Linked DNA regions of Homo sapiens: region 2 is linked to region 1. The links are contacts of gene promoters, found by promoter capture Hi-C in blood cells and fetal thymus (Javierre and others, 2016). All regions are on one chromosome and are shown on one strand. Each heading gives the region's core, a stretch centred on a gene start or on the middle of the fragment in contact. The rest is flanking DNA. Distances are from core to core; before and after follow the strand shown. Region 1 holds the start of FAM168B (family with sequence similarity 168 member B). Region 2 holds the start of INSIG2 (insulin induced gene 2).

What was found. The method cuts DNA at HindIII sites, captures the fragments that hold promoters and counts their contacts. A CHiCAGO score of 5 or more calls a contact.
Region 2: the fragment with the promoter of INSIG2 here is called in contact with the fragment with the promoter of FAM168B in region 1 in 3 of 17 cell types (fetal thymus, total B cells and neutrophils); the score reaches 11.6 in fetal thymus.

The regions. Positions count from the first base shown.
Region 1 is chr2:131,090,424-131,096,651 of GRCh38, reverse strand. It overlaps FAM168B (family with sequence similarity 168 member B), which reads left to right and starts at 3,192. Exons shown (of 7, transcript NM_001009993.4): 1 at 3,192-3,438. RefSeq lists a silencer at 3,019-3,738. The HindIII fragment of the contact is 2,381 bases long and covers 1,742-4,122 here.
Region 2 is chr2:118,085,537-118,092,385 of GRCh38, reverse strand. It overlaps INSIG2 (insulin induced gene 2), which reads right to left and starts at 3,915. Exons shown (of 6, transcript NM_016133.4): 1 at 3,845-3,915. LOC107985940 (a long non-coding RNA gene) reads left to right here and starts at 3,955. Exons shown (of 3, transcript XR_001739662.3): 1 at 3,955-4,135. RefSeq lists enhancers at 3,961-4,150, 4,161-4,210. The HindIII fragment of the contact is 7,859 bases long and covers 760-6,849 here.

The DNA of each region.
Region 1 (6,228 bases), core at 1,943-4,442:
ATCTTGGCTCACTGCAACCTCCGCCTCCTGGGTTTAAGCGATTCTCCTGCCTCAGCCTCCCCAGTAGCTGGGACTGCAGGCGCGCCCCACCACGTCCAGCTAATTTTTGTATTTTTAGTAGAGACGAGGTTTCACCATGTTGGCCAGGATGGTCACAATCTCTTTTTTTTTTTTTTTGAGCCAGAGTCTCGCTCTGTCACCCAGGCTGGAGTGCAGTAGTGTGATCTCGGCTCACTGCAACCTCCGCCTCCCGGGTTCAAGCAATTCTCCTGCCTCAGCCTCCCCAGTAGCTGGGACTATAGGCACGTGCCATCATGCCTGGCTAATTTTTTTGTATTTTTAGTAGAGACGGGTTCACCATGTTAGCCAGGATGGTCTTGATCTCCTGACCTCGTGATCAGCCTGCCTCAATCTCCCAAAGTGCTGGGATTACAGGCGTGAGCCACCACGCCTGGCCAAGATTTTTATTTATTTTTAATTTAATTTTAGAGTAGGTAATGTATTCACGTGGTTCAAAAATTAAAAAAAAAAAAAAACCCAAACATGAAAATTATCTTTCTCACCTCTGTCCCCTATCTGCTCAGAGCCCACTTTTTCCCAGTCTCACCACAGATAATCATTGCTGGTAGATTTTTGGCTATTTTTTGGTATTTCTGTAAATATGACAATATTCTGTAAATGTAAGTAAATACAGATATATTTTTTCATTTCTACCTTTTTACATAACATTCTTTTTTTTTATTTTTTATTTTTTGAGACGGAGTTTCGCTCTCGTTGCCCAGGCTGGAGTGCAATGGGGCAATCTCGGCTCACTGCAACCTCCGCCTCCTGGGTTCAAGCAATTCTTCTGCCTCAGCCTCCCGAGTAGCTGGGATTACAGGCATGTACCACCACGCCTGGCTAATTTTGTATTTTTAGTAGAGACGGGGTTTTCCCATGTTGAGGCTGGTCTCGAACTCCTGACCTCAGGTGATCCACCCGCCTCGGCCTCCTAAAGTGCTGGGATTACAGGCGTGAGCCACCGTGCCCGGCTTTACATACTATTCTTACACAGAGTTCCATACCTTGGTTTTTTTTCATTGAATAGTCTACCTTGGAGATATTTTCATTTCAGTACATACAAAGTTTCCCCATTTCTTTTTCAAGTTATAGGCTATTTCACTGCATGATGAACCAGAGTTTACTCAGTCATTTCCCTAGGTGTGGACACTAGGGTTTGTTTCCAGTATTTTGCTACTATGCACAATGCTGCAATTAATAGGTGTGAACTCATTTTATTTCACACATCTATAAGTATCTCTGTAGGCAAACTCCCAGAAGTGCAGCTGTTGAATGAAACATTGTTTGTGCGTTTATTTTGACACACATCATCAGACGATCCCCTTTCCCATCCAGCAATGTCTGAGAGTGCGAGCTTCCTGGCAGCCTTACCAATAGCATTGTCAATTTTTTGGATGTTTGCCAATCACAGTGAAAACTGCTACCTCAAAGAGTTTTAACTTGCATTTTTCTTTATAGAAGTGAGATTGGATATTTTTCATATGACTAACAGCCAGACTTAGTCCTTTGCTGTGAACTCTCCTTTTTCTATTGGGTGGTAGGGCTTTTTATTGTTGACTTCTGGAAGCTTTTGGAATATTAAAGAGATTAGCTTTGTCTATTACATGTGTTGGGACTATTTCTTCCTTGTTAATCATTTATCTTTTGACTTTGCTTATGGTGCTTTTTGCCGACCAAAGCTTTTCATAGTCATGACTTCTGGATTTCAAGTAATAATGTAGAAAAGCCTTCTTTACTCCAATACTAAAAAGGAATTTCCCCATGTTTTCTTCTTGTCCTTTTATCACATTTATATTTTATTTTTATTTTTTTTTTTGAGACGGAGTCTTCCTCTGTCGCCCAGGCTGGAGTGCAGTGGCCCGATCTCGGCTCACTGCAACCTCCGCCTCCCGGGTTCAAGAGATTCTCCTGCCTCAGCCTCCAGAGCAGCTAAGGTTACAGATGTGCGCCACCACGCGCAGCTAATTTTTGTATTTTTAGTAGAGACGCGGTTTCACTATGTTGGCCAGGCTGGTCTTGAACTCCTGACCTCGTGATCTGCCCGCCTCGGCCTCCTATAAGTGCCGGGATTAAAGGCGTGAGACACCGCGCCCATCTGTTTTTATTTCATAAACGACTGAAAAAAGACCAGAGCCAGGCCTCCTCCCTTCCATCACTAATCTTTATTGCAATAACTCCCTCCTTTGTCGTCCTGTACCTAGCTCAGACCAGACGACACCCCAAACACAAACACCAAGACACGCACCTCTTTAATACGAAATAATAAACATACCTCCCCCAGAGAGACACCCTGAACTAACCAAATCATTGTAACTATACACTAAGCCTTACATAAAAATACTAACATTTGGCCGGGTGCGGTGGCTCACACTTGTAATCCCAGCACTTTGGGAGGCCAACGTGGGTGGATCACCTGAGGTCACGGGTTCGAGACTAGCCTGACCAACATGGTGAAACCCCCGTCTCTACTAACACAAAAATTAGCCAGGTGTGGTGGCGGGCGCCTGGAATCTCAATTACTCAGGAGGCTGAGGCAGGAGAATCGCTTGAACCCGGGAAGCGGAGGTTGCAGTGAGCCAAGATCGCGCCATTGTACTCCAGCCTGGGTGACAAGAGCGAAACTCCGTCTCAAAAAAAAACCAAAAAACCCCCTAACATTCTAGTACACTTCCCTGAACTCTTGTCTATAGAAATGATCCCGCACTTCTACACTTGAAACGCTGACTTGCATTCTCTAAAATCTGCACTCCTGAGCGGGCGCCCGCAGCCTCCGCACTGGCAAAGAATCTGTGAGCTGAGCTCCGCCCCGCTCCGACCCCGTAGTGGCGGTCACCCGGGGTGTGCTCGACTCCCGGGTGCGGCCTGAGGATCCGCGCCCTGGCGTCTGGGCACACACAAAGGTTTCTGCGGCGCGGGACTATCTCAAAATATAAATTAAATACTTTTTTCACAGACAGTTAATAAAAAAACTACAGCTACACCCGGCCCTTTCGCCAACTGGGACCGGCCCACTCCGCGCTCGCGCTCGCGCTCGTCCATCCGGGCGTCTCGAGGGCGCCGGCGGGAGCGAGCACGCTGCGCAGTCACGTGCCCGGCGCGCCCCCGTCGCGGCGCGCTCAGGCGGAAGTGAGGTCGGCGGCTCCGGTGGCTGCGCAGCGTCGGCGGGGAGCGCGGGCTGCGGAGAGGCGGGCCGGGCCAAGCGGAGCCGAGCGAGCGGGAGCGCGGCGTCCGGGAGGCGGCGGAGACGCGGGGCTCGGAGGGTCAGCCTCTTATCGTAGCAGGTCTCCTCGGCACGCCCCCCTTGTTTCGCCCCACGGCCAAGCCCGCCGCGGGCCGGCGTGCGCTGGTCACTGAGGCCCAGGTCGCCGCCGCGGCGCGGTGAGTGGGGGCGGGCAGCGGGCGACTGCGCGTCCAGGCCGGAAGTGCGGCGCTTTGTGCGGCCGGCTCGGGGCGGCGCCAAGGTCGGCCCGCGGCTCGGGGTCGCTGGGCGTCTGGACCGGCCTGGGCTGCGCTTTGTGCCGCGGGCAAGGCCGGGCGGGGGCCGGGGGCGGAGCTCGGCCGGACACGTACGCGTGCAGGTGCGGTCCGGGCGGCGCGGGCCTGCCGCCTAGGTGGCCGAGGTGGCTTCGCGGCGCGGGGCGTTCTCCTAAAGGTCGGGGTCACAGCCGTCAGGAATGCGAGCGTGAAACCCGGGGGCAGAGCTTTGTGACAATAGTCATTTCCAATGTGTAACTGCTCACTTTGTCTACCCACGAAGTAAAGATAATTTTTATTTTTATTTTTTTGCTTGGCGGAATCTGAGCGTTCTCCTTCCAGCTTGAAAAGGCACGATTTAAATTACAGATTTTTAAGATTTCCTTCAGAAAGGACGTTTCGTGGCCTAGCCTGGGTTAACTTTGAAAAAAGAGTGCAGTGCGCCTTTACGACGTCCACAAATAAGGGTATTTCTGTTTTATAGTGTATGTGAACATGAAGTGTGCATCTCATGGGCTGTTTGAGTTAATGTTTAATCATTAAAGTCAAACAAGAATATTTTGCAGTGTTTTCGCATGCAAGGAAGCTTTATAAATAAAAAGGTTTATATAGTTTCCACTCCTTAAACTTTCAGGTCATCCTTGTGTAATTTGAGATCACTTTTCTCAAATACTATGGATGAAAGATTCTAGATTAAATAAAACTTTTTGGTTTTGGCAAAAACAGGACACATTTTTAAGCTCTTGTAGATGAAGGAGTGGGTTATTTTTGCTTTGACAGCCAAGATTTGAGCAGTGTAAGGCTATTCTAATTTTGAAGCTAGTGTTGCAGAAATTGTGAAGATCTTGCTTCTCTTTGTCTTTACAAAGCAGGCTTACTTTGGTGGAGTTCCGTAGTTTAAAGGGAAATTATACCCAAGTTGTCTTAGACAGTTTCTTTTCCTGGATCAATTGAGCACTTTTTTTTTTTTTTTTGAGACGGAGTCTCCCTCTGTTTCCCAGACTGGAGTGCAGTGGCGCCATCTCGGCTCACTGCAAGCTCCGCCTCCCGGATTCACGTCAGTCTTTTGCCTCAGCCTCCCAAGTAGCTGGGACTGCAGGCGCCCGCCACCACGCCTGGCTAATTTTTTTGTATTTGTTTTTTTTTTTTTTTAGTAGAGACGAGGTTTCACCGTGTTAGCCAGGATGGTCCCAATCTCCTGACCTCGTGATCCGCCCGCCTCGACCTTCCAAAGTGCTGGGATTACAGACGTGAGCCACCGCGCCTGGCCGAGCACAATTTTAAAAGAACAGTACACCAGCGTAATAGAGTAATAGTTTTTTCATGCCTTGTGTCCAGTCTGTTAAGTCTGTCTGATTGTACTGTGCAGAAATACATGAATTCCTCCCAGTAAAATGCAAACCCAAACCTTGGTAATGAAGGTAAAGTTTGGGGGAGAGAACTTCTTTTCTTTTTTCTTTTTTTTTTTTGTGAGACGGAGTGTCGCTCTGTCGCCCAGGCTGGAGTGCAATGGCGTGATCTCGGCTCACTGCAACCTCCGCCTCCCGGGCTCAAGGGATTCTCCTGTCTCAGCCTCCCGAGTAGCTGGGATTACAGGCACACACCACTGCGCCCAGCTAATTTTTTGTATTTTTAGTAGAGACGGGGTTTTACCATGTTGCCCAGTCTGGTCTTGAACTCCTGACCTCAGGTGGTCCACCTACGTCGGCCTCCCAAAGTGCTGGAGACACCACCGCGCTCGGCCTATATGCTTTATTTTTTATTTATTCATTTATTTTTTTGAGACAGTTTTGTTCTGTCGCCCAGGCTGGAGTGCAGTGGAGTGATCTCGGCTCACTGCAACCTCCTCCTCCCGGGTTCAAGTGATTCTCCTGCCTCAGCCTCCGGAGTAGCTGAGATTACAGGCACATGCCACCCTGCCCAGGTAATGTTTGTGTTTTTAGTAGAGATGGGGTCTCATCTCACTATGTTGGCCAGGCTGGTCTCGAACTCTTGACCTCAAGTGATCCACCCGCGTTGGCCTCCCAGAGTGCTGGGATTACAGGCGTGAGCCACCGTATCCAGCTTCTTTTTTAAAAATATATTTTTGTCCAGGTGTGGTGGCTCACGCCTGTAATGCCTGCACTTTGGGAGGCTGAGGCTGGCATATCACGAGGTCAGGTGATCAAAACCATCCTGGATAACATGGTGAAACCCCATCTCTACTAAAAATACCAAAATATTAGCCGGGCATGGTGGCAGGCAACTGTAGTCCCAGCCACTGGGGGAGGCTGAGGCAGGAGAATGGTGTGAACCCGGGAGGTGGAGCTTGCAGTGAGCCGAGATTGTGCCACTGCCCTCCAGCCTGGGCAACAAAGCGAGACTCCATCTCAAACAAAAAATTTGTATATATTATACATATATATGTTCATTTTGTAGAGATGGGAGTCTCACTATATCGCCCAGGCTGATCTCAAACTTCTGGGCTCAAGCAGTCCTCCTGCCCCAGCCTCCCAAAGCACTGGTGTTACAGGCACTTGCCACCAAGTCTACAAGCTCTTGTTGATGTTGCCAGACATTACTGAGAATTTCCAATGTTGATTTTTCTGAGTATTGTATCTTGTATATTGGTGTTTCTGAGAGTGAATCTAAACCTCTTAAAATTAGATTTGTTGATATAAAATTTTAAAGGCCTCGTGTTATAGTATTTCATAC
Region 2 (6,849 bases), core at 2,666-5,165, about 13 Mb after region 1:
AATCACCTTGAAATTTTCTTTAATAGTACTAGATCAAGGTGTGAAAATGTTTTAAAGTAAAAAGAAAAAATAGCAAACTAACACTCTGTATAAGAACATTAGTTGACTCTTTACTTCCCCAGATCCCAGTAGACACAGCACGTTGCCCTCACGTGCTGCTAACAGCTGCTAGAAGATGGGCATACTTTGAGTAACCCACATTGAGACAGCGTATCATTTGTTTCTGTTTGTGATTTTTCCAAAAGGGAATTAATGGAAAGGGGTATTTTATGTTTAATAGTATTTTTAAAAAGGAAAATAACTTCAGTTTAAAAAAGCTATTTCAGTCATGCTAGCCCCCATCTCACACTGACCAGCATTTGTCAAAGGGCACTGATATTTTAGGCAGGACAATTATTTGCTGTGTGAGACTGTTCTAAGCATTGCAAAACATTTAGCATCCCTGGCTCCCACCCACTAAATGCCCCCTCCCCTATTTGTGATAACCAAAACTGTCCCCACAATGAGAGCCACTGATTGCTACAGACTTCATTCTATTTCAAGACAGCTAGAGACTTTCTGTTTATTTATGTTTTCTACCACAGCTGCTTATTTAACCTTTCCTGGCAGTGCTTGTTTAGTTTTCTACTTCGCCCCAAAAGTTTTCCTTAAAAATAACACATTTGCTTGACATTTATTTGAATGAGATTCAAAAAGCTAATTTTGTAACTACATCATAATACAATAGTATATAATTACTGGTGACAAAAAATAAAAGCTTTAAGAAATAGCAGGGAACTGGGAAATCATCTATTCCAAGGGGTATGAGACCCCCATGCGAAACAAAACAAAAAAGTTGTATATATATGCATTTTTTTCTGGGATGAAAGTTCCATAATTTATATAAAGTACTCAAAAAAGTCCATGATCCAAACAAAGTAAAGAATCAGTAATCTAACAATTCTCTCACTCTATTAGCAAGGCCAATGACATGCAAAGTAGTCAACTGGATTAACAAGATTAAGACAGTACCATCAGTTCTTATTACCACAAACGTGTATAGTGAATGCCAGAAAATGACCAGACTCATCAAAGGGATAGAGGCGTCCACAAAACCATTTCACCCCCTACCATGCAACAATGAAATTCCTTTAAAAGCATGTTTATAATATCAGTTGCACACTAGAGGAGTCAGAGGAGTGGGTTATTTTCAAGGGAAAGTAAGCTCCCTTAGTTTACTTTGAAGTTTGTTTTTCTGATTTTGTACTGATACCATTTTCTTAAAACAAAGTGGATCTATATCTTTAAATATTAGTCTTACATTAATGATAAACTTGATGCTCCAAAATTTTTTTTAAAAATCTATATTTGAAAAATTTAGATTACTTGACAAATAATTTGCTGACCAGGGAAAAAGTCTCTGGTATAAAGATACTGTTTAAAGGACAATATGTCAATAGATTCTCGAAAACAATCTTGGTAAATAGGCAGGTGTTGTTAGTTTCCATTTTACAAAATAAAATAGGTTAAGTAACTTTCCAAGATCACAGAACTGTTACCAGGTAGCACCAGGACTAGGCTCACCCACTCTGACCCCATGTCCGGAGTTCTTCCTGCTTCACCACACTGCTTCCATTCACAAACATGGTACAAAACAATTTAAGTGCCACACAAGAAACCGTTTTTAAAATCATGTTGGTAAACTACTATTAATACCAAAATAATGTTTTCAACAATTCACAAAGAAAAACTTTCCACCAGACTTGAAAAATTCTACGCTGAGCCCTGGCCTAAAATTTCTGGAAAGTACAATACTAAACAAAAAGAAAAAAAGTTGAAATAATTTGCATAGATCAATGATGAATCATCAATACTGGAAAAACATTATTCCAGGTGTATGGCTGCCTATTAATGGATTGATATTATTACTTTCAGGTTAAAAAAGAGTTATAAGTGATTATGAGCTTCGTGAATAAAAATCAAGGTTCATGTTGGCCACTGAAACAACTTAGAGGCAACAAGCATTTGAAAACAAACACACATACAAAATCTTCTAGTAACCTTAAGAACCTGTTGCATTGTAACAACTGCAACACCCCCTAAAACCAAATGACAAGACCATTCCTCTTCCAATGATTAGCCGTAAAAGAAGTATTTTTACTCCCTCAGATAACCCTGTTTCTTCAGGTGCTTAGGTCACGTAAGCTACTAAATAATAAAGTTAAATTACTACCTCACATATTTTTCATCATATGCTCTCTTAATTAGAATAGCATTCTTGAAATAGAATAAGCACTAACATTAGAAAAAAACAGACTTAAATCAATGCAACAGTTTAATGCTCCCTAAATAAAAACACATCTACATGTATCATGGGCTAGAGACGTTAAAAATTTCTAGGAAGAAAAGCAATATTTGCCTTATAAACACTGCAACTCTTTCCTCTCAACATTAAAACCCAAACATAGAAACCAGTAAGTTAGCTGCATTTACAGCCCCTTACAGGTTTTAAATGTCACATCTCAGTGCCTAAAAAAGTTACTCCATCGTTTCGAGATAAGTTTCTGAGAACAAAGAAAACTCTTTAAACTACTGAACTGCATTTTATTCTTTCCTTTTCCGTGTGACCATCTGCAAAAGCAACAGTTGTCAGTTAAACAGAATCAACCTCTTTCCCGAGTGGACATGATTCACAGCTTGGTCACTGTACAGCAGATGTGAACTGAGAACTACGACATAACACAATGACAAAACACAGTACTGAGCACAAAGTACAGGGAAAGAATGAAAGACAGAAAACAGGAAGAGCACACGTCTGATTTTTGTTTTCTTTGGGGCCCCCATTAGTAGCATTCCCTTCATCCATCTTCATTCAGTGGTTCACTATCAGGGCCAAACCCAAAAGTTACAAAACACCATCTAGCTACTGTCTGGCTGCTTTTATTTTTTCTGCACCAGGACGGGAGCACGCATTCCCCTGCAGTCCTCAGCTCCACCGCAATACTGATACCAAACAGTTTCAGTGGCCCAGCTGCCAAGCCTAACCATTCCTTTTTAAAGCATTTCTTCATCAATCCTACAAAACAGCAAGTTCTTCATGGTATATTTTCCTAGAGCATCTAGCTAATATCATACTTTAACAACTTTTTCCAACGTTAACTGGACATGGGTCATTATCACTTAAGTGTTAGCGCCATTGCCCGCGCCCACTCCCATAATCCACACTGCTTTCCTTCTCCATATTGCCAATCCCCACTAAGCAACCCTAAAATCTAGTAATTATCATCAAATCCACTTCTAGGCCCTGGCAAGAATTATTTGGCTTTACCGAAACACCTATTCCATAGGTAACCAATTCCAGTCAAAAATGCCAGAGTATTACTCCTCAACCCAATGCCCTATCTCCTTAGTGGATTATAAACTTACTACGACAACCTGTCTTCTTTGGATCCAATCCCCGCCCAAGTCTGAGTCTTCTCTCCCAGGCTACAAGCCCCCAAGTCCTGGCAGCTCTATGCTTGACAGCTCGCTGACCTCCACCTCATCAGACCATTGGGTCGCCCTTCTCGCCGTCCTCCAGCCTTCTTCCCGCTCAGACACTCATCCACTGTCCGGGGAGCCTCGACCCCTCCTATACCCCCTCCCCGATCCCGCAGTCCCCTTCTGGACCTTGCGGACCCCTCTCAGGTAAGCGGAGCCCCTTGCCCTGCAGGCCCATCAGTGGTCCTGGCTCCCCGCACCTGCCACCAGGGTTCCCAGGCTGCAAAAACACAAGTAGTTCTTCTTCCCAAGGGCCACCCTCCTCCTCAGGCCGCTTTCCTCAGCACCACGTCACCCGCGCTTCGCCGGGAGACCCCCAACTCACCCCCGCCTCCGCCATCTTCTGGGACCAGCCCCCGTACCCCCTACCGCCTCTTCCTCCTCCACTCCCACAACTCCGCCCGAGCTCCACTGCGCCTGTGCGGCCAACGAGGCCGCGCGCAGGCGATCGGGGCAGAAGAGCTTCCGGTTCCTGCTGTCAATAAGACGTGGACCTGCGAGCCGGGGCAAAAGGGCTTCCGGTCTGCGGGAAACTGGAGGCTAGCGGTGGGCGTGGACCGTCGAGGTGACTGGCGGTTGTCGGATCTGCTGTTGTTTGCTGACCAGGCAGCCGTAGGTAATGACGGATGCCCAGACCCTGTGGGCGGAGTAAAGGAATCATGCACTGATACACGCACACTCACCGAGGGGCGCGTCCGTCTGCGTGCCCCTCATCTCGTAGCCGAAAGGAGCGCGTTCCGGGGCAGGCCTCCGGGTACTTCCCGCAGAGGACCGGGCTTTATACTCTTTGCTCCTTTTCCTCCCCTAGTAAGTCATAACTTATTTTGGGAGAAGGGCATAGTTATTTGTCTCTCGTCTCCATGCTACAGCACTTTATGTGCTTTTCATTCAAAATCGTTCCTCGAGGACGACCAAGTAATGTGATTTGGGGGACAGTTTTCATAGGAAGGGCTTTATAAGTTTACACCAACATAAAGAAAACTTAAAAACCTTATAACCGCTTATTTTTCAGAAGTATTATTTTTCATTTAATCTAAAACCATACTTTTAGAACATGAAACCAAGCCAAACAGATCTTTGCAGATTGTGCAAGCGAACTTTTTTTTTTGAATGAAAGTGGTGCCATCAATGCAAAAGCAAGCCCATATAAGTGCCGAAAGGTACTCGTCATAAGGAGGAGTTGCTTCCCTATTCTGAATTTTTATTTATTTTTATTTATTTATTTATTTGAGACGGAGTCTCTCTCTGTCACCCAGGCTGGAGTGCACTGGCATGATCTCGGCTCACTGCAACCTCTGCCTCCCGGGTTCAAGTGATTCTTCTGCCTCAGCCTCCCCAGTAGCTGGGACTACAGGTACATGCCACCATGTCTGCCTACTTTTTGTATTTTTAGTAGAGATGGAGTTTCATCATATTGGCCAGGCTGGTCTCAAACTCCTGACCTCGTGATTCGCCCGCCTCATCCTCCCAAAGTGCTGGGATTACAGGCGTGAGCTGCCCCCTGAATTTGTTTTTTTTAAGCAACTCTTTTTAAAAAGAGAGAAAAAATAATCTCTCTTGAGTGTATTAGTTATTGAGCTATTCCATTTGGAGGTGGCTTAACCCAAAACGTGTATGGATGTGGTAAGATTACAATGGACTTGAATGTTCTAGATGAAATCTGGGCCGAGAGTAATTGCATAATAGTTTTCCAAAGGACTGTCAGATGGTAAACTCCTTTCATTTACTTTGAACTGATAAACGATAAGATGGATTTTTGTTTTTTGACCTTTTTATCTACATTTACTTCTGAAAATTGAAAAAGAATCTGAATTCCAACAAAATGTTTCTAGGCAAGTATTTGCATGATGCTTCTCTAACATTTCCTATATCTTAGTGTTTTCTCTAATGTTTTCTGTAGCTTTCAAATTTCACTCCTGTAAGTTTTTACACTACCAGTAAGAAAGATCTGGGCCAATTATACAGAATGGACGATGATTTTTAAAAGAATAGAGAAAGCATTCAGAAAAGAGACAATAATTTGAAAATGTTCTGACATCATGTATTTCCTTAAAGCAATACAAGTCCTGTATGTCCAGTTCATGTCTACTCCAACCGAGCTTTTTTCAGACACTTAGAAATTGCCTTCAAGAAAATCCTTATGGAACATTGTAACCTAGAGGGGCATTTATTTTCGTTTAAATATGTATTAATTGCAAGTAGTGACAGAACCTAAAAAGCAAAAACCATATAGCACCAGTTCCAAGGTTCCTATATCTAATGCAGTTACTCCTACTGCAGTACAAGGAGGAATATAAAATCCCTAGGAGAAATACAAAAGGCCATTGTCTTCTTTGACCAGATTTGAGGAAAGTTTTCATGGAAGATGTGGTCTTTCAGTGGGCGTTGAGGGTAAATATGCAGATATGGTTAGCCTGTGCATTCTGGTGGAAGCTCAGAGTTGGAAAAACATGAAACAGATTGCAGAGTCTGGCATGTACAAAGAGGTATGGTGAGACATGTGAGTTCTAAACATCAGGCTCATGAATTTGGACTAAATTTTTGTTATGGAAACATGGAAATCCTAAATTAATTGATGCCAGAATATAAATTGGTTAAGAACATCAAGAAATCATAACAACTGAGTTATTTTGAAGTTGGTGTAATGTGGTCAATGGAACGCTGGTGAATGATCCTTGAAACCTGGATTGTATTTTAGCACTAAGACAGTATGCGTGTAATCACTTGCAATAAATTCATTTTTTTAGGCTTTCTTCTTTTCATCTGTAAAATGAGAGATTGGTTTAGATGATTTCTGAGGTCTTTTTTATAGGTAGAAGTATCAACAATTTGATAATTCTTGACCTCAAGAAAGGTTTTTTCCATTAGCTTTATATGTTGTTTGGTCTCCCAACCAAGAAGATCAAAGATAAGTTAGAAAACAAAAAGCCCTTTACTTAGCTAATACAAACACCCACAAAAGTTTATTGACTTTGTTGGAGTGAGATATTGTAGGAGTCACATTAATTATTGCCTACAGGTTGATGACTAAGCCATTCAGTAAGCCTCTAAGAACCTTGGACTTGGAAACATTACCCAAATTAAAAACATCCAAGATAATTTTTTTACTATTGCAATTTTCCTATTCAGTAGCTAGAACCCCACACACTACAGACCATTCTACTTTTTTGGTTTTGGTTTTTGTTACGGTGTTTTGATGTGAAATATGTTTGAGGGACATAGAAAGTCAAGGAATTTTGCTTTTTTGAGAGATCAGAATGGATTATTTACTAAGCCAGCTATCACCTGAGCACCTGGCAGGTACCAGACACTTGGCACTGGACTTTAGGA